4 separate regions of the Homo sapiens genome follow, and all the other regions are linked to region 2. The links are contacts of gene promoters, found by promoter capture Hi-C in blood cells and fetal thymus (Javierre and others, 2016). All regions are on one chromosome and are shown on one strand. The core of a region is centred on a gene start or on the middle of the fragment in contact, and the rest is flanking DNA. Distances in the headings are between cores, read along the strand shown.

Evidence for each region. Contacts are between HindIII fragments. The CHiCAGO score rates a contact against its expected background, and 5 or more counts as called.
Region 1: a contact is called between a fragment that was not itself captured here and the fragment with the promoter of CAPN7 in region 2, in 11 of 17 cell types (total B cells, neutrophils, naive B cells and 8 more). The highest score is 18.4, in total B cells.
Region 3: a fragment that was not itself captured here is called in contact with the fragment with the promoter of CAPN7 in region 2 in 2 of 17 cell types (total B cells and fetal thymus); the score reaches 6.1 in total B cells.
Region 4: a contact is called between the fragment with the promoter of TMEM43 here and the fragment with the promoter of CAPN7 in region 2, in 2 of 17 cell types (total B cells and fetal thymus). The highest score is 5.9, in total B cells.

Annotation. Positions count from the first base shown.
Region 1 is chr3:16,247,541-16,252,073 of GRCh38, forward strand. LOC124906218 (a long non-coding RNA gene) reads left to right here and starts at 3,646. Exons shown (of 2, transcript XR_007095838.1): 1 at 3,646-4,533. It also overlaps a transcript of GALNT15 not described here. RefSeq lists an enhancer at 1-96. The HindIII fragment of the contact is 5,868 bases long and covers 1-4,441 here.
Region 2 is chr3:15,204,996-15,209,794 of GRCh38, forward strand. It overlaps CAPN7 (calpain 7), which reads left to right and starts at 1,251. Exons shown (of 21, transcript NM_014296.3): 1 at 1,251-1,602. The coding sequence starts at 1,501. It also overlaps the pseudogene COL6A4P1. RefSeq lists a silencer at 957-1,476. The HindIII fragment of the contact is 5,244 bases long and covers 1-4,799 here.
Region 3 is chr3:16,550,061-16,554,840 of GRCh38, forward strand. No RefSeq gene overlaps it. Among named protein-coding and RNA genes, the nearest start is that of LINC00690, 16 kb to the left of the region's middle. The HindIII fragment of the contact is 877 bases long and covers 868-1,744 here.
Region 4 is chr3:14,122,462-14,126,301 of GRCh38, forward strand. TMEM43 (transmembrane protein 43) reads left to right here and starts at 2,591. Exons shown (of 12, transcript NM_024334.3): 1 at 2,591-2,744. The coding sequence starts at 2,733. CHCHD4 (coiled-coil-helix-coiled-coil-helix domain containing 4) reads right to left here and starts at 2,409. Exons shown (of 3, transcript NM_001098502.2): 1 at 2,194-2,409. The coding sequence starts at 2,215. RefSeq lists enhancers at 1-562, 2,034-2,768, 2,636-2,835, 2,769-3,503, 2,936-3,225 and 1 more and silencers at 1,826-1,875, 1,886-2,445. The HindIII fragment of the contact is 788 bases long and covers 2,476-3,263 here.

The DNA of each region.
Region 1 (4,533 bases), core at 258-2,757, 1.0 Mb after region 2:
GCAGGCTGCACCCTTCAACGGGGCTTGTGAAACCTGGAGAAGCACAGGCACGCCTGTGACCCACACTCACTCCAACCCCACAACTGATAAAAGACAACGCAAGGCCCAGAATCAGATAACCTGGGAAAGTGTGTTGTAAATGAAGCATCATTTCCTCTTGAAATACATTTTTTGTCTTCCTGTACTGGGAACATAAAAGTCCCTCACCATCCCCTTGACCTCTCAGCATTTCCAGGGCTTCCCTCGACCTCAGTCTGCTGTCCCCCTCCCGGACCCAGCACCTTTTTAGCACTGAGGATCTAACCTTGTGCTCATGAGGCCTGGCTTGGTGGCGACACGTCACCCAGCACACACAGGGGCTGTCCCAGGAACGAAGTGGCATGCACATGTGGCACTCCAGGCTTCCAGCTCATCTGTGAACAGCTGCGGTCATTTGGTGGCGAAAACTCTACAGCCCACCTACCAGCCTCCTAGCCGCAGTCCCACCTGCTCCATTTTCACTACAGTCGTTTTTGAAGAGGGGCGGTGTTTCTCCTGCAGTTTACTGACAATGTTTACAGAGAAGCTATCGTTCAAGCTACTGTTCACTGCCTCCCTCCCCCGCTCAAAACACATGAAAAGTTATTCTGCCCTAGAAAATATAGGTGCCTTAGCCAGCAGGCAAATAAACATCCTCGTGGTCTATGCCCTGCTTTTGTGGTCTAATTCATTTTCTCCCTCATTCTCTCTCTCATTCTCTCTCTTATTCTCTCTCTCATGCTCTTTCTCTCTCATTCCTTCTCTCCCTTCCTCGTTCTCTGTATCTGTATCTCTGTCTTTCATAAGCCGAAACACACATACACACCGTGATATAAGAACATATAAAATCACGTGTAAGGATATTGGAATACAATTTAAGGTGAGTGCAAAAAAGGGCAGAGAATGGGCAGTGCAGAAAAGCTGGAGTTGTCGGGGGAGAAGACTGCTGGGCCCCGGATGATGAGCCCTTCTCTGAACAGCATCCAGTTTGGACACAGTAGAGAACACTGACAATCCCAGGTCATTGTGCCTTCAGTTCCTTAGAGGAAAAAAAGACAGCTTGAAGACAAAATCACTGTGAGAGTCACAGAAATGACAATGAGGCATCTGTTTTTACTTGAAATAGGTATGCATTTTTAAATGCCTCGCTTACCTCAGGTGGGTGGTGAATTCTAACGTACTTTCATGCCAGTTACTTCTGCACACCAGTGGGAGGCATCCCTGAGTGCTCTCTGACAGCTGAACGGATCTTCTCAGAGATGCCCTTATTCCAGCACTATTTCTGCAATGTATAGAAAGCACTATCCTTGGAATCAGTTTCCTGCACTTGGGAATGAGGCGATGGAGACTGAGGAGCCCCAGACGGGAGCCAAACAGAACCTTGGCTGGGGTGGGCTCCTCGTCAATGTGTGTGTGGATGGGGCATGGCCAGGCAGGGCAGAACTTCCTGACCAGCTAGGAGTCTGTGGAAAGCAGACTGGTTAATAACATGGACCATTCCAGCTCCTATCATTATGCATGGCACATAGCAAGAACTTAACAAATATTGATTAAATGAAGAGGAGTAGCAGACACTTACTTCACATTTTTCCACATGCCAGGCCTTGTTCTAAGTGCTTTTCTTATGCTAACTCATTTTGTCCTTTCAACACTCCAGTGAGGCCGGTGCTGTTACTCTCCCCATTTCACAGATGGGAAGACCGGACAGAGAGAGGCTAAAATGCCCAGAATCAAACTAGAAAAAGGCAAAGCAAGGATGTACATGAGTATGAAGCAGGTGCTGTGCTAACTGCTTACAATTGTTATTTCATTTGACCCTCATAGCACCCTGTGAAAGAATATCATTGTCCCCATTTTATAGAAGAAACTGATGCTCAGAGAGGTTAAAACAATTCCCACTAATAAGTGGCAGACTTAGGATTTGAACCAAGGACAATCTGACTTCAGACATAGCCATAGGGGATTAGCGCCCCCTATTGCCCACTCTAGTGAGTTCTTAGGCTGTTGGGGAGCAGCCTGGCAGTGTCCAGGGTTGTCCTATATGCCTGCTGGACCCTGGCTGACTGGGCCCTGACAACCAGCATCCTGGAACTGGCCAGAGGTGCAGGGACAGGCTGGGGAGGGGTGCAAAGGCCCTATCTGCTCCCTTCCAGTCGTCTGGGGCGTTCTCACATTGGCAAGGGCAGAGTGCTCCCTTCCTCTGAGTGGATCAGGGATGACATTGATAGGCCCCTGGAAACCAGAACTGCTGGCTTCTTCTGGCCTGTGTCTCAGATGCTGACCTCTGGGGAGTGAGAGTCGGTTGGAAATCCAGCCCTTTCCTCCTCTCTGAGCCCATCTCCTCTGGAGGGGTGCTTTCCTCTTGGCACCTTTGTGCCACATGGGAAATTCAAGTGTCCTTTGGTCCTGCTGGAGAAATAATCCTGCCAACAAAAAGACCCCTTCGTACCAACACAGGAGAGAGAGGGCCCAATTTGTCACTGGGTAAGCATTAACAGACTTGCGTGAAAGTGATGCCAAAGTCTGGACAGAATTTCACACAAATTTATAAAGTAGAAGAAAGAGCAATAAAAACTTCTCTTTTTATCTCCTTGAGTGACAAATGGATGGGTCTTGTGATTGTTTCCTGTGCACCTCCAGAGACTCCTGATTTAATTTCCAAGGTGTGTGTTAGTATTCTAAGGATTAGAACGTCCTAGACTTTGCATTATAAAATCTAAAAGTCAAGAAGGCTCCCTAAAGGGTGCCTCCCACCTTAAAGGAAGTAGCATCATTTTATCCTTACTGTGTCTTCTGAAAAACCACCAATATTATTCCCCAAAAACACCTCTTTTTAACAAAAATTTAATGACATGACCCTTCCCATTTCTCTGTGCATCACTTGGTGGAAATCTACAGTGAGTAGAGTTTACCAAAAACTTCATGTTTATTACCTATATTTTTCCACTACCCTGGGAACCTCCTTTTATTGATGCAGAAACAGGTGCTAAATAGTTCTCCTAAAATTGATGTGGGAGAGCTGAGGCTTGAACCCAGATATTTGACATCCACTGTCTCTTCTCTACTCTCAAAGAATGTATATATAGACATTCTATAGCAAGCAAAGAAAGGTAATAGAAAAAAAGATGAAGTTAGTAGATGCGTTATTTCTTCAGTGCGTGAGCACCATGCCACATTCTAGAATAGAACTGTTCAAGAGAACTTGCTGTGAAGATAGAAATGTTATTTGAGCCATCCAGTAGGGTTACCTCAAGCCACAGCACATGTGCGCATGTGTACCTGAAATGTGGTAGTGTGACTACTAAGGCACTGGCTTCTTAATTTAATTTTATACATTTTAATTTAAATTCAGGGCTGAGCACGGAGGCTCACACCTATAAGTGTGCCGGAGGCCCAGCACTTTGGGAGGCTGAGGCAGGAGGATTGCTTGAGGCCAGAGGTTTGAGACCAGCCTGGGCAACATGGCAAGACCCTGTCTCTATAAAATATAAAAAATTGGCTGGACATGGTAGCACGTGCCTATAGTTCCAGCTACTTGGGAGGCTGACCGCAGGAGCTGGAGGCTGCAGTGAGCTATGACTGCACCACTGCAGTCCGGCCTCGGTGACAGAGAAAGACCTTGTCTCAAAATAAGTAAATAAATAAATACATAAATAAATAAATTTACATTTAGAAAGCCACACATAGCTAGTGGCTACCATGCTGAACAGCACAAAAGCCCTGCTAGGCACATCTTGAGATGTCACTGAGGCCAGTAACTGACTGGCTGTTTGCTTCAGACCTTGGGGTGAAGATCCTGCAAATGTCAGCTGCCCGGCACTCACATGAAGTAGGCTGCCCCTTGGGAAGGGGAACACATGATCGCAGAGGGTTTCTGGCTGCACTGCCCTCCTGCAAGCTGGCGTGGGCTTGGGCCTGCCAGCACCAGAGTCCCATGACTCTAGCTCCCCCAGAGGCCCTGGCGCTGTCTATTCACCACCATCCTAGGACTGCTGCTGCTCGCTCTGCTCCTCCTCTTCCTCCTCCCCATCCCCCAGCCCAGAAGGGCAGCAGTCCTCTCGAGTTTGCCCCTTCAGACAAACCAGGACAGCTTCATCCAAGTATAGAAATAGTCACCTGCTTTCTCAAAGTCACATCAGAACAGAGCTGAGAGGAACCTTAGAAGTCATTCCTTCATTCCTCCTACCGCCACCCCATTTTACAGTTGAGAAGCCAAGACCTAGAGAGGTGATCAGTATCATCTTTGGCCTCTTTGCCCAGGGCAGTGACCCACTGAGTCCACAGATGGGGCAGGAACACGTGTGTGTGCAGGAAAAACAGGAACCATCTGGCTGGGGTCAGGCATTCCTTCTGCCTCTTTATGTCCACAGGATAGTTTTTTAAATTGATGATGAGGAAGGTGCATGTTTGGCAAAGAGGACAAAGCTTCCAATCGTTTAACTGCCAAAACATACATTGGGGTCACTTATTGGTGAGAAACATTTCTGTCCTGTCCTTACAGATTCTCTGTAACAT
Region 2 (4,799 bases), core at 1-2,500:
CACATTAGATATATTTAAGTAGTGGAGTTGACTCATTCAACATTTTAAAATATTTGTTGAACACCTGCTCTGGAACAAGGCTTGCGCTCAACGCTGGGATCAAAGTGGTAAAGACAGGAAGCATCCCTGCTTCAGCTATAAAACTGTAGTTGCTACCTTTGAGAGCCATCTTTGGGCCAGGCACAAAATCAAATTCTGTGTGTCTTTATAACAGCCTGATGAGACCGTTGTTATTAAGAACTTCACTAAATGTGAAGAAATACACTTAAACTAAGAAATTAGAGTCCCATTTTAAATGCAGGCCAAATGACTGAAAAAAAATTTAGAGTATAATTAAAAAATTAAAAGTACACACTTAAAATGTAGTTTGATAAGTTTTGACAAACGTATATATTTTTACACCACCATTGAGATATAAAACATTCTCATCATCCGAAAAGATTCCTTTGTATCCCCTTCCCAACCACTGATCTGCTTTCTAACATCGTAGTGTTTTCTAGTGTTTCTTATAGATGGAATTATACATTATGTACTCAATTCTTACTTCTTTGACTCAGCATGAATTTGGTGGTGCCCATCACTAATTCATTTTTATTACTGCTGACTTCAGACCTTTAGGGGAGAGAAGACATAAATCAAATAATCACCTAATTAAGTATTTAATTACAACAGCATCAAGTTAACCTAAGGGTAAGTACAAGTGGAAATACATTACCTTGTTTGTTAACAATTCAATCAATACGACCTTGGTGTACAGTGGGGGGCTATAGGGTCATGATTCAGCTTGTGGAAAACAAATGAAAATAAATGTTAGCGAAGAGTGACTCTAAAGAACCTCTGTCCTCACGGTAATTTTTTTAATGTGTCAGATGCTGGTGGGAGGCATTCTTCCTTAGCTCTTTACTCCCATCCCTTACACTTAACAGAGGAAAGGATCTGTAAGGCGCGTACCCCTCTACTGCCCACTGTCGACGAAAACAGCCTCGCCCTGCACCGCCACCGCCACGCATAAGGCGGTGTGTGGGCAGCTCGGACGTGGCACCTGCCCTCAGCTGCTCAATCCCGGGCGCCGCGACGGTCACGTGCACAGCGGCAGGCCTTTTTGCCCCGCCCCCGCGGCCCGGCTCCTGCGTGGGCCCGGCCCCGCCCACAGCCCGCGCAGTCCCGCGAGCCTGGCCTCGGCGGCCCCAGCTTCTAAGGAGCTCGTGAGGGCCAGGCTGCGCCTGCGTCGGGCGGCTGGTGGGCGGGGCGAGGGCCGCTGGGGCCGCGAAGTGGGGCGGCCGGGTGGGCTACAAGCCGGGTCTGGGCTGAGGGGCGCGGCTTCGCGGTGGACCCCAGCCCGGCAACGGGAAGGCGAGCTCTCCTCCACCGTCCAAAGTAAACTTTGCCGCTCCTTCCGCGGCGCTCCCGAGTCCTCGCCGCCGCCGGGCCGCCGCAGTCCGCGAAGAGCCGTCCTGCGTCAGGGCCTCCTTCCCTGCCCCGGCGCGGGGCCACTGCGCCATGGACGCCACAGCACTGGAGCGGGACGCTGTGCAGTTCGCCCGTCTGGCGGTTCAGCGCGACCACGAAGGCCGCTACTCCGAGGCGGTGTTTTATTACAAGGTAGGGCCGGGCCCGGCGCTTCGGTCGGAGTTGCTCAGTCGGAGTGCGGCCCGGGCCTGCGGCCGAGGGGCGGGATCCGGGTGCGGAGGCTAGCGGCCCCGGCTTTGCTTTTCCCTCGTCCGCCTCCCGGCCCTCCTCTTGTTGGGAGCGGCAAGCCCGAGTGCAGAGGCCGACGCTGAGGCTGCGGGGAGGCTGGGTCGCGGCTTGCAGCCGCCGCTCCTCCACCTGTAGTCCTGACTGGCAAATGCCCACCGTTGAGCCGCTTTGGGGGGCAGGTGTTAGATATGGGTAGTTAGTAGCCAATTCTTGCTGTCACTTGACTCTGATTTACAGCTAGCGGGAAATGGCCTGTGATATATATCAAAATAATGCATGCTCGTTAAATAAACTTAAAAAGAATAAAAACCATCTCCTGTCATAGCATTTGACATACAGTCATGCGTCCTTAGCGATGTGATATTTTCTGAGAAATGTGTTCTTAGGCCATTTTGTTGTTGTGCGAACACCGTAGAAAGCGCTTACACAAGCCTGAATGGTACAGCCTGTTCCACACCTAAGCTGTATGGCATGGCCTGTTGCTCCTAGGTTACAGGCCTGCGCAGCGTGTTGCTGTACTCAGTGGTGTGTGCAGTTACATGCAGTGGTAAGTATTTGTGCATCTAAACATAGAAAAGGTACAGTAAACATGCAGCATAAAAGATAAAAAAAAAATACTACACCAGTGTGGGGCACTTACCCACAAAAGGAGCTTGCAGGACTGGAAGTTGCTCTGAGTTGGTGAGTAGTGGTGAGTGAATGTGAAGGCCTGGGACATTCACTGCTCTACTCTTGTAGACTTTATAAGCAGTGTACCCTTAGGCTACGCTAAATTTTTTTAATCTTTCTTCAGTAATAAACTAACCTTAGCTTACGGTAACCCTTTTACTTTATAAACTTCTAAATTTTCTTAACTTTTTAACTCTTTTGTAATAGCTTAAAACGAACTTATTGTGCAGTTACACAAACATTTTCTTTATATCTTTATTTGGTAAGTTTTTTTGTTTCTTTTTTTTTTTTTATTCTTTAGTTAAAAACTAAGGCACACGTTAGCCTAGGCCTACACCTCGTCAGGATCATCAATATTACTGTCTTCCACCTCCAATCTTGTCCCACTGGGAGGTCTTCAGGAGCAATAACAGGAATGAAACTGTCGTCTCCTATGATAACAATGTCTCTTGAAATATCTCCTGAAGGACATGTCAGAGACTGTTTTATAGTTAACTTTTTTTTATAAAAGGAGTATACTAACAGTACATAGTATAGCATAGTAAATACATAAACCAGTAACATAGTTGTTGATTATCAAGTATTATGTACTCTACATTATTGTGTGTGGTAGACTTTTACACCACTGGCACCCCAGTAGGTTTGTTTACATCAGCATCACCACAAACATGCGAGTAAAGTGTTGTGCTATGACATTATGATGGCTATGACATGACCAGGCAATAGGAATTTTTCAACTCCATTATAATCTTAGGGGACCACTATCATATATTCAGTCTGTTGTTGACTGAAATGTTATGTGGTGTGTGACTATATTTTTGTGTTTTTTTATGCGTATGTGTATATGCTTTTTTTTTTTTTTTACAAACTGGTTTATACTGTTTTTAGTAATAGCTGCACAGTAGTTCATTATGTGGGTGTACCATATTTTTTTTTTTAAGAGACAGCGTCTTGCCCTGTCACTCAGCCTGGAGTGCCGTGGCCCACTAATAATAGCTCATTGCAGCCTCAAACTGCAAAGCTCAAGCAATCCTCCTGCCTCAGTCTCCCAATTGGTGGGACTACAGGTAGACACAACCACACTTGGCTAATTTTTTTTTTTTTTTTTTTTTTGTGTAGAAATGGAGTCTCGCTGTGTTGCCCAGGCTGGTTTCGAACTCCTGGGTCAAGCGATCTTCCTGCCTCAGTCTCCCAAAATGCTGGAATTACAGGCGTGAGCCTCTGTGCCTGTCCAGTGTACTATAATTAATTTACAGACTCTTGGGCATTCAGTTGATTTTGTTTTTTCAACATCATAAGTAACGATGTAGTTCATATCTTTATAACTAATTCTTATGACTAGTGCAAATTTTTGCCTGAATTTTCTTTGGGATAAATTACCGGGGACAGAATTGATAAATCAAAGGGTATGAGCTTCCATGGTCCACTCTCTTCTCTCCAATTCTGAGGATTTGCAAATATACCCCTCTAGCTCTAGCTAGATTTGGAGGGAGCTGTGTCCTCATGATAGTGTCACCTTTTCTTTTAGAAAGATTATCAGACTTTGATAATACTGTACAATAGTAGTACTTTTTTTCACAAATGTATGTGCTGTCAATAAAGTGTGGTTTGTTTCAGATTAATATTTTGTTGCTTTCATTTTATAATCTTTTTTCCTTTTTTTTTGAGACGGAGTTTTGTTCTTGTTGCTCAGGCTGGAGTGCAATAGCACAATCTCGACTCGCTGCAACCTCCACCTCGTGGGTTCAAGTGATTCTCCTGCCTCAGCCTCCTGAGTAGCTGGGATTACAGGCATGCACCACCACCCCCGGCTAATTTTGTATTTTTAGTAGAGACCGGGTTTCTCCATGTTGGTCAGGCTGGTCTCAAACTCCCGACCTCAGGTGATCCACCTGCCTCGGCTTCCCAAAGTGCTGGGATTATAGGCATGAGCCACCGCCCCCAGCCTATTTTTTTCTTTTTTTATTGATAGGTAATGTACATAGTTTCAGGGTACATGTGATAATTTAATACATTAATATAATTTGTAAAGATAAATCAGCATACTTGGGATAGCCATCACCTTAACTACTTCACAGCTGAACTGTGCAGCTTTTATTACTGAATATTATTCCCTTAATATTTATGCTAGGAACATTTGAATTAATCTAGCTATTTTGAAATGTACAATCAAATATTATAAACTCTGGTCACCCTGTGATCTATCTTAACAGTAGGTCTCATTCTATTATAATCTGCTTTATGTTTAGAGAGTTTTGGTGCATTTCAGAATCCTTTTAGACTTTTTTGACAATTTCACAAGGCATTGTTTAAGAGAAAAATTGTGTGTGTTTTGTGAAATAGCTTTGACAACAGGTTAAAATAGTGCTATATAAAAATAGATTTTATTAAAGCAAAAGAAACTGCTATGCACTGCCCCTTGTTTCCTATAG
Region 3 (4,780 bases), core at 56-2,555, 1.3 Mb after region 2:
CCACAATTATAATTGGTTGCATAGGCAAAGCTTCTCTTTCTCATTTGATAATCCTGTATATCTTTATAAGGAGCACATTTTTAGCTGATATTCCAGCTGCATATTGGAATTACATCTGTTCTCATTCTCTTGTTAATAATGTTAATAACGAAGCTTGACTAATAAATTGCAAGGGCTAACTTTGGAGTGACTGGTTCAAAATTCCTTGCTAGTGAGGAAAACAAAAGAACAAATATATTTTAAGAATAGATCCACCATAATAACATGCTGATGGTCAAAACTGATCAGGTAATTTGGATGAAGCCTCACACCTTCTTACACTTTGCAAAAGAAATAGCAGGAAAGGACAGACAAGCCTGGGCTCCTGTTCAGCCCTGGGGAGGAAGCAGGTACAATGGAGCTGGCAGTGTGGTCATTCCTGCTGTGCCAAGCCAATTTGCTTGAACTTGAAACAGAAGTGTTAACCTCACGGCACGCAAGTCCACCCATCCTCTGCTTTTGCCCTCCTTGGGGGCTTTCAGTGGCGCTTGTTGGGGGGAGAAAAAGGTGCTTGTTTTATTCCCAGTTGTACAGAGCAGCTGATCAGTGTCTGCACGACTTCTTGAACAAAGAATGTATTTCAGACCTTCTTATTGCTTGCTTACTTCATTTAACATTTAACAGATGTCAGTTGTGACACACACACACTTTCTCCCTAGGCAATGGATTAAGGCAAATTTCATTTTATGCCTGGCACGAAAGCCATGCTACATTGTATATTGAAAGACTTTTTTTTTTTTTTAAGAGAGAAAGAGGGGAAAAACAATTCTGCCTTAAAATCCCTAATAATGCAAGAAAACCAATTTCCGCAAAGGCATTGTCCTGGAAAGCTTTGTTGGTTTATGGTGCCACCTAATGGGGATGTGTCAGATTACACAAGGGCTATTGCATCAGGTCGCACACCCTGTCATGGTGAACACACTGGTGGTGTGTGGCTGGGAATGCAGTTTATGCAGATGCCTGTGCTGGATGAGATGTTATCGTCACGTACTGTGTCTATGTCTAGTTATTTAACCTTGGGCAAGTCCCTCCACGCCTCTGAACTCAAGGATCCTCACCTAAAGGAGGCTTCTGGATGCCTTCTTTGTGAGACTGTTCACAGGACAAAGAAAAGGTGTACTTGGCTGGGCGAGGTGGCTCATGTCTGCAATCCCAACACTTTGGGAGGCTGAGGCAGGAGGATCACTTGAGGCCAGAAGTTTGAGACCAGCCTGGGCAAGATGGCAAGACCCCATTTCTACAAAATAAAAATTAAAAAATTAGCTGGGTGTGGTGTGTGAGCCTGTATCATACTCCATATCTGGGTAACAGAGAGACTCTGTCAAGAAAGAAAGAAAGAGAAGAAAGAGGAGAAAGAAAGATGAGAAAGAAAGAAAAAAGAGAAAGAGAAAAAAGAAATAAAGAAAAGGAAGAGAGAGAAGGAAAGAGAGGGAGTGAGGAAGGAAAAGAAGGAAGGGAGCAAGGAAACAAAGGAAGAAAAAGAGGGAAGGAAGAAGGAAGGAAAAAGAGAAAGAAAAGAAAGAGAAAGAAGAAAGAGAAAGAAAGGAAGGAAGAAGAAAGAAAGAAAAAGAAAGAAAGAAAGGGGAAAGAAAAGGTATATTTGAAATGGAGACATAGCCCAAGGCTCTTAAACTCAGGGTTATGTCAGTCATGATGTAATAAAATCATGAGGCCCTACATATATTGTTTTTCTCCTTTTGGTATAAGCTTGGGTTTCAGAGCCATGTTTTTCGACGCCAGTAAAACTTCCAGCACTAGCATGGAAATGAACTGCAGTCGATGGCTGCCCTCAAGGTTGGAGAGGGGATAGGAAACTGGGGCTGCGTTGAACTGGACAACACTTGTCTGGTCTCAGGTGGATGACTGGTGTCAGCCCAGAATGGCCAGGAGGTGTGGCAAGATTTTCCTGTTTGCCTAAAGAAAGTAACCACTTGGGATCTCCTGCTTGTAAATGTTGGCCCAAGTTTTTGAACTCTACAGGGGCTAAAGAAATCATCCCCGAGGACTGAGTTCAGCTTGTGGGTCTCCAGCTTGCGCTCTCTGCTGTTCATTGCTATAGTCTTGCAAGAAGGTGGGTGCTAGGTGTGGAGCCCACTCTATCCAGGGTACTCTATCTGTGGGGAAGGGGGGCTCAATGCTCCATGTCTTGGGGGAGGATAGTGGGAATCTAGTGGCAGAATCAGGAGTGGGGACCTGAATCATTATGTTACTGGCCTGAGGCCAGAAGCTCAGCCTGGTGGAGGCCTAGGTAAGGCCTTCCCTGGTTGTCAATCCTCCTTCCTCGCCACCATGTCTTTCTCTCCTCTTCCTTGGAACGGCTTTCCCTGAAGCCTCCAGGCTTCTCTGATGAGATCCCCTCAAGAGCTAAACAGTTACTGGACACCATTGAGAAGAGTGCCAGACTGAGAGTCAGACCTGTGCATACACACTTGCTGTGTGGCCTTGAGGGGGAACCTCCACCTCTCTGAGTCTTTGTTTCCTCATTTATAAAGTGGGGAGGAAGAGAAAAGCCTTTCCCAGCTTCTCAGGATGGCACCTGGGTACAGATCATAGAGATGATGCATGAGGCGTGCTTTGTGAACTTGAAAGTGCTGAGCAGTACTTGGTTATTGTAAAACAATGACATCTACTTTGAATAATTCTTAAATCCTGGTACAGAATTAAGAAAGGATCATCTATTCATTTAGTCAACTATTTGTTCAAGAAATACGTACTGAGCCTCCATTATGTGCCAGGTACGTCTAAGCAATGACTAAGACAGACATGGATTGCCTGTCATGGAATGTCAATTCTAGAGTAGGAGGTAGAGAATAGGGAAGAAAGGAGGGAAAGAGGGAAGGAGGGAAGGAAGGAAGGAAGAAGGGAAAGAAGGAAGAAGGAAAGGAAGGGAAGGGGGGAAGGACAGAAGGAATGAGGGAGGGAGGAAAGGAAGGAAGGAAAGAAGGAGGGGAGAAGGGGAGGAGGGAGGGAGGGAAGGAAAGAAGGCGGCTTGAAATTGGCCATGATGAGTATTTACACCACCAACATTGAAAAACTCAGTAAATCAGGGTCCTTCCTGCAGGCTGACTTTTAAATATTTGCCATCAACTACTGAAGCCAGAGATTAGAGTGAGGAGCCAGAGGAGGATTCTGAGTGCAGGAGAAACACAATTTGCTATCAATTTTATCCATTTTTCAAAGTTTCCTCTTCATGATGTGGAGAATAGGCTGCAGCCAGGCACAGCAGCAGCGGGAGTATCAGCCTAGAAGGCTGTGAAATAACACAGGCATGAGATGCAAGGTTGGGCTAGCAATGGAGTAGCCAAACACGGATGGTTGGGATATGATGGGGGGCAAGGCTGATGGCATTCATTTGTGGATTGGCTGTGGGGTAAAGATAGAGACACAGCTGGTGAATCATACAGACACACTCTGTTCATGAAGAGCTTACACTTTAGTGGGAGAAACAAAGCAGGCAGTCAGCTAGGACTCCCACAAATATTTAGTTATAGTGGCTCTCGATGACATATAACGCAGGGAAACCTAGCCAAGTTTGGAAATGACATTTAAGCTTTGCTAAGGTGAGGTACGGTACAATCACACACCCATGGAGATATTTACATATTTCCTCCACAACTGATTTGGTTCTGCAAACATGCAAGGCCCCAAACATGTCATTCGCTAGTAATGGACTATGGCAAGGAGGAATCAGGAACGTGGAAGCTTTCAAAAATTGCCTACCCACCCAACTTCTGGGTTTTGCCTGTTCCGTCAGGATCCGCTGTGAGCTGCTAGGGTAATGGGGCAAACGGTGGAGATGCAAATGAAAATAGAAATGCTGAGAGAACAGGTTATCTAGTGGAAAGAGGGTGCCAAAGGAAGCAGGGTAGCTAGTGTGAGTGGACTGTTTGATACAGTTTGGGAAAGAGAAAGTTTTGGAGGAGAGCAGGTACCCTGATAAGGGGAGTCTTGAGGAAGCAGATAGGCGATGAGTTTCTTCAGGGCTGATGAATGGTTGTGTTATTCAACCGGTTCTGCACTGACCACCATGTGACTTTGCTCCTAAGAAAAAGCAGAATATATTTCCCCACCCCTGGATTTGGGGTTTGGCCATGTAATTTGCTTTGGCTGAAAGACGGAGATGAATGGGAGTGACAGGGAGCCAGTTATGAGATTTCTGCCTTAAAGGCTTTCCACATTTGCCATTGCCATCTGCCATTGTTTGCCACACGAGGAGAATGAGAGACACACGCTGCAGAGCCAGCCCAGCTGAGCCCTGCCTATGTCAGCCAAAAAGCAGCTGACCTGCAGACATGAGAGCAGTTATAAATGATCATTGCTTTACCCTGCCGAGTCTTGAGGAGGTTTTTGCACAGCAACAGCTGACTAATGCAGGGCTTTACTGTGTGTCCCACAGTGTAGTTTGGCTTTTCCTCATTTGACTTAAGTAGAGACTTTAATTAGTTCTAAATGCTTTCCAAATGGTTACTATTTCTTTTGATAGTATTGAAACTGCCTTTGCAAAAACTATGTCAGTGAGAAAAATTATAACAGTAAGCTGAGCTAAATTGTTGCAGGTAGTTAGATGGGCATGAGCGGGGCAGGAGAGTGCTCTTCCCCCACCTACTAGGAATGTCAGGTGATGGTCTGACAGCTATCACACTGTCTCTGTAAAAATGGTCATGCGGGGACCTGGGTGCCGTGGCTCACACCTGTAATCCTAACACTTTGGGAGGTGGAGACTGACAGATAGCTTGAGTCC
Region 4 (3,840 bases), core at 1,341-3,840, 1.1 Mb before region 2:
ACTATGGTGCTGACACAGGAGAAGTGTGGCTAGCCCAAGGCCCAGGTGCGAGGCTGAGAGCCCTTGAATGCCAAACCAACGAGTTTAACCTGAAGGCTGGGTAGCAGGTGGACCCCTGAAATAAACTTGTACAGGCAAGTGATTCACTCAGAACAGAGGGCAGGTAAATGCATGATTCAATAAAGATGTGGGCACCCATTGTACACCAAGCCCTGTGCTAGATGCTGGGGATTCCACAGCCCATCTGATGCTCTCAGCTTAGTGCGAGAAGACAGGCAGGAAGTAAGATGGCAAAAAATAAAAAAGGTCATTTCAGACAGTTCAGGATGTGAAAGACACAAAGGGTCAGGAGGTGATATTGGAGCTAAATGTTAAAGGATGAGGAGTCAGCCACGGAAGAGCTGAAGGCAGGATATACCAAACCAAGGGAATAGCCAAGAGGCTAGAGGCTGGGCAGCAAAAGGGTGGGAAGAGACCAGGCTGGAAAGGCAGACAGGGCCAGATCACATAAGCTCTGATACAGTAAGCAGTTTGGGATCATTTTTTAAAAATCCTATGGGAAGCATAAAGGATCAGTGGGGGGCGGAGGGGGGGAAGTTAGGGACTTCTTACGGGGACAGTGGTATGCACAAGATAAATACTAAGGAAGGCCTATAAGTGAGTGCTTTCAATTCTCACTCCTCTCCGAACTAAGAGAGATCTTTGAAGCAGGAAAAGATAGGGCTCCATGTTTTGGAGGCAGATGGACCTAGCCTCCCCTTTCCAGAGAAAACTGCCTCCTGTAAATCCTCAAAGAGGAGGGTCTTGTTTATCAGCACAGCCTCATTATACCCAAAGGCTCAAAAATTATTTGCTAAATGAAGTAAATTAGAGAAAGACTCGAAATTAAAAACAAGAGTGGTGAGGGCAGAGGACTTTTGCTTATGGCACACATTAAGTAGTAATCAGCGGAAATATAATAGTACTCATTAAAGAGTGAGTCTTATGGCTTTACGACCCAGAGGAGGAGAGGTTCTAGAAGCAGACAGCGCCACCAGGGAAAAGGCTCAGAATTTTAGGCTGAGCTAGTCTCCTAACTGGATGTGTAACTACAGGTAGGCCACCTCCTTCTCTGGGCTTCAGATTGCTTGAATTAACTGACGGAGCTGGAGTATTCACCAAAGAATTTCTGGGGGACTTCCAACTCTCTCTGTAGTTTTATAACCATCCATCCCCCTTCTCTGGCGCAGAGAAGGTGCTTCATGAGTATTTGCCGTATCAATGAAGCCCAACATCTCATTTTACAACACTGGATACCAGGGCCTGGAGGGGTTAGGTGGGAGCTCAGGGCCAAGGAGCCAGTTTGTGGCAGTGTGTGGGGAGGCCCTCCGACCTGTGGCTCGGGTACTTCTGAGCTCTTGGGTAGAGTAACATCAAGGAAGCAGTAGGTGGTCGGAGCTCAACTTTGGGGTGGGAGGTAGGCAGGGTTCTCCCTGCAATCCACTGGGCACTAGATTGGATAAGGCTCTTCTGGGGTCACAATGCCCAGGCTCAAACCCCAGCTCCACGATTTGCTGGCTGAGTGGCTTTAGCCATGTCTCCTGTGTCTAACTTTACTCTTCAGTAAAATGTGACCAACAACAGAGCCTGACTTACAAAGGTCGCAGCGAGATCTGTGAGACAAGCCAGGCAAGTTTCCTTGAACAGTGCCTGACAGGTAGCAGGGGGCTCAAAAACATTCCCGTTAGTGGAACTCCTAGCACTCCAGCACAGCACACGCTACCCCGAGTGGCAACTTTTCGGGACGCGCCTTTTAAAGGCGCGTGCAAAATGTAAACACGTGGGGTATGGCAGGAGCGGTAGTGATAATTAACCACCATACATTCCCAGTTTCGAGCCACACGCAACGTGCTCGGCACTTCCCGTGCCCCAACCGGACCTAGTTTACGACTTCCTACGCACAGGCCCCTCTGAGGTCAGGGTTCGGGCTTCACTGTGACCTTGGACCAGCCCCGTTCCCCCCAGAGCTTCGGTTTTCTCATCCGCAAAACAGGAGTAGCGACCCCCCAGCCGGCCCGCCTCCGAGTGTCCCAGGGTGGGCACCTGGGCCGCGCCTCAGGTGGCCCGCGCCCGGCGTGGTCGCGGGGCGCCGGGGCCCGCGTGTCTCCCGCAGGCCCTCGTAGGCCGGTCTCCGTGGCAGCCCGCCCTCCCTACCTTCCTGCCGGCAATAGGACATGGCTGCAGCCCGTCCCTGAGACCTTGCAGAAGCGGCGGTGGCGGCAGCTGCACCTTTACGCCGTGACCTCCCTCTCCTCTGGCAGGGCGGGCTCCTCCGAAGCCCGCGCGGACCCGCCCCCTCCCAGGCCTGCCCGCCGCGCGCCTGCCTCGGCGCCCTCGCAACCGCGGCCAGGCCAACCTCAGCCGGAAACTACATTTCCCAGCAGGTCGCGCGCTCCTCGACAGCTCTCCAGGCAGTAGAAACTACATTTCCCCGAAAGCTTTGCAGTGCGCAGGCGCATCAATGAGGTACTGCAATGTCCCGGACCGTATAGTTTCCAGGACGTCTCGCCGCGCGCATGCGCAGAAACACTGGGCACAGGGGGAGGTAACTGCAGTAAGTCCCGCTTGGCCCTGGAGTCCACGCGGATTTTCGAAGCTGGGGCTGGCAAGAGGCCGCTGGACACCACGCTCCAGTCGTCAGCCCACTTCCTAGCTGAACAGCGCGAGGCGGCGGCAGCGAGCCGGGTCCCACCATGGCCGCGAATGTGAGTATCCCCGGGCCAGCCGGGCCACACCCAGGCTTCCCCGTCGCCCTGGGGCTTTTCCCCGGGGTCCTCTAGGTCCATTTCGCCGCCTGGAGCTCCTCCGTGCGGCTAGGCCCGCATCTCCCTCTGCTCGCCGTGTCTGTGCCTTCGCCAGCTCATCCCTCTGCTCATCTCGCGGCCTGTCCAGGCTTCTTTTGTCCGTGTTCCTTGGCTCGCCTCGTCCTCGGCGTTCGTGCGGAGGCGGACTCGGAGGTGTTGCTCCCGTACTGGGATCTGCTTGTACGCCTCTCCGCGGCCCCTCCTTGCATTCCCAGTTCCCTCCTGTACCTTGGGGCCCTGAAACTTGCGCATTATGAGAGCTGGACGCGACCTCAGAGAGGGCGCCAGTCCCTTGGGAGGGAGGAAGGCGATCCAGCCCAAGTGGAGCTGTCCAGCAATGGACAGACAGGGCTGTCCAGGCGGGCAGAGAGCTCTCCGCCCTAGGGAGTCTCTGTAAACCGAGTCTGTGATGCTCCAAAAAGCTTAGGCTGGGCTGGGAGCGAAGGAGTTGGGGGAGAGGGAGCATTTCTCTACTGTCGGGGCCCCTCCTCCCCCTAGCAAGGATTTGGTTGGAGGAGGCCTGGCTGAGGGCTGTTCCCTCAAGGCCTCTTCTCCCTGCAACTAGCCTTTCTCGGGAAACTATTTAAGCCCAACATTCATTCAACAAGCAGCGCCTCCTACCAGGGCGCTGGGTGTGGGAGAAGCTGGTGACTCACCTCTCCCCTCCTCTGTGAAAGTGCTTCTAGGGCCCGCTTAGGAGCCCAGCCAGCCCCAGACACACCCTCCCTCCTGCTTTGGTAGAGTGTCCTAGCAGCTCTCCCCTTGCCTGTCACACCCTATTTCCAGACACCGCCTCTGTCCCCAAGCGTCCTCTCTGCCTCCCACACCCCTTGAGAGGCCAGGGTGTGCATCACCCACAGCCCTAGTACACTTTGTCTCGGGTTAGTATCATCCACACTCCCAGGACATTTCGGGCCCACAGGAGGGTTAGAAGCCTTGAATGTTGTACCTAGAAAAGCCTCAGAGGTATTCGGAGAGACTCAGGCTCGGCCAGGCG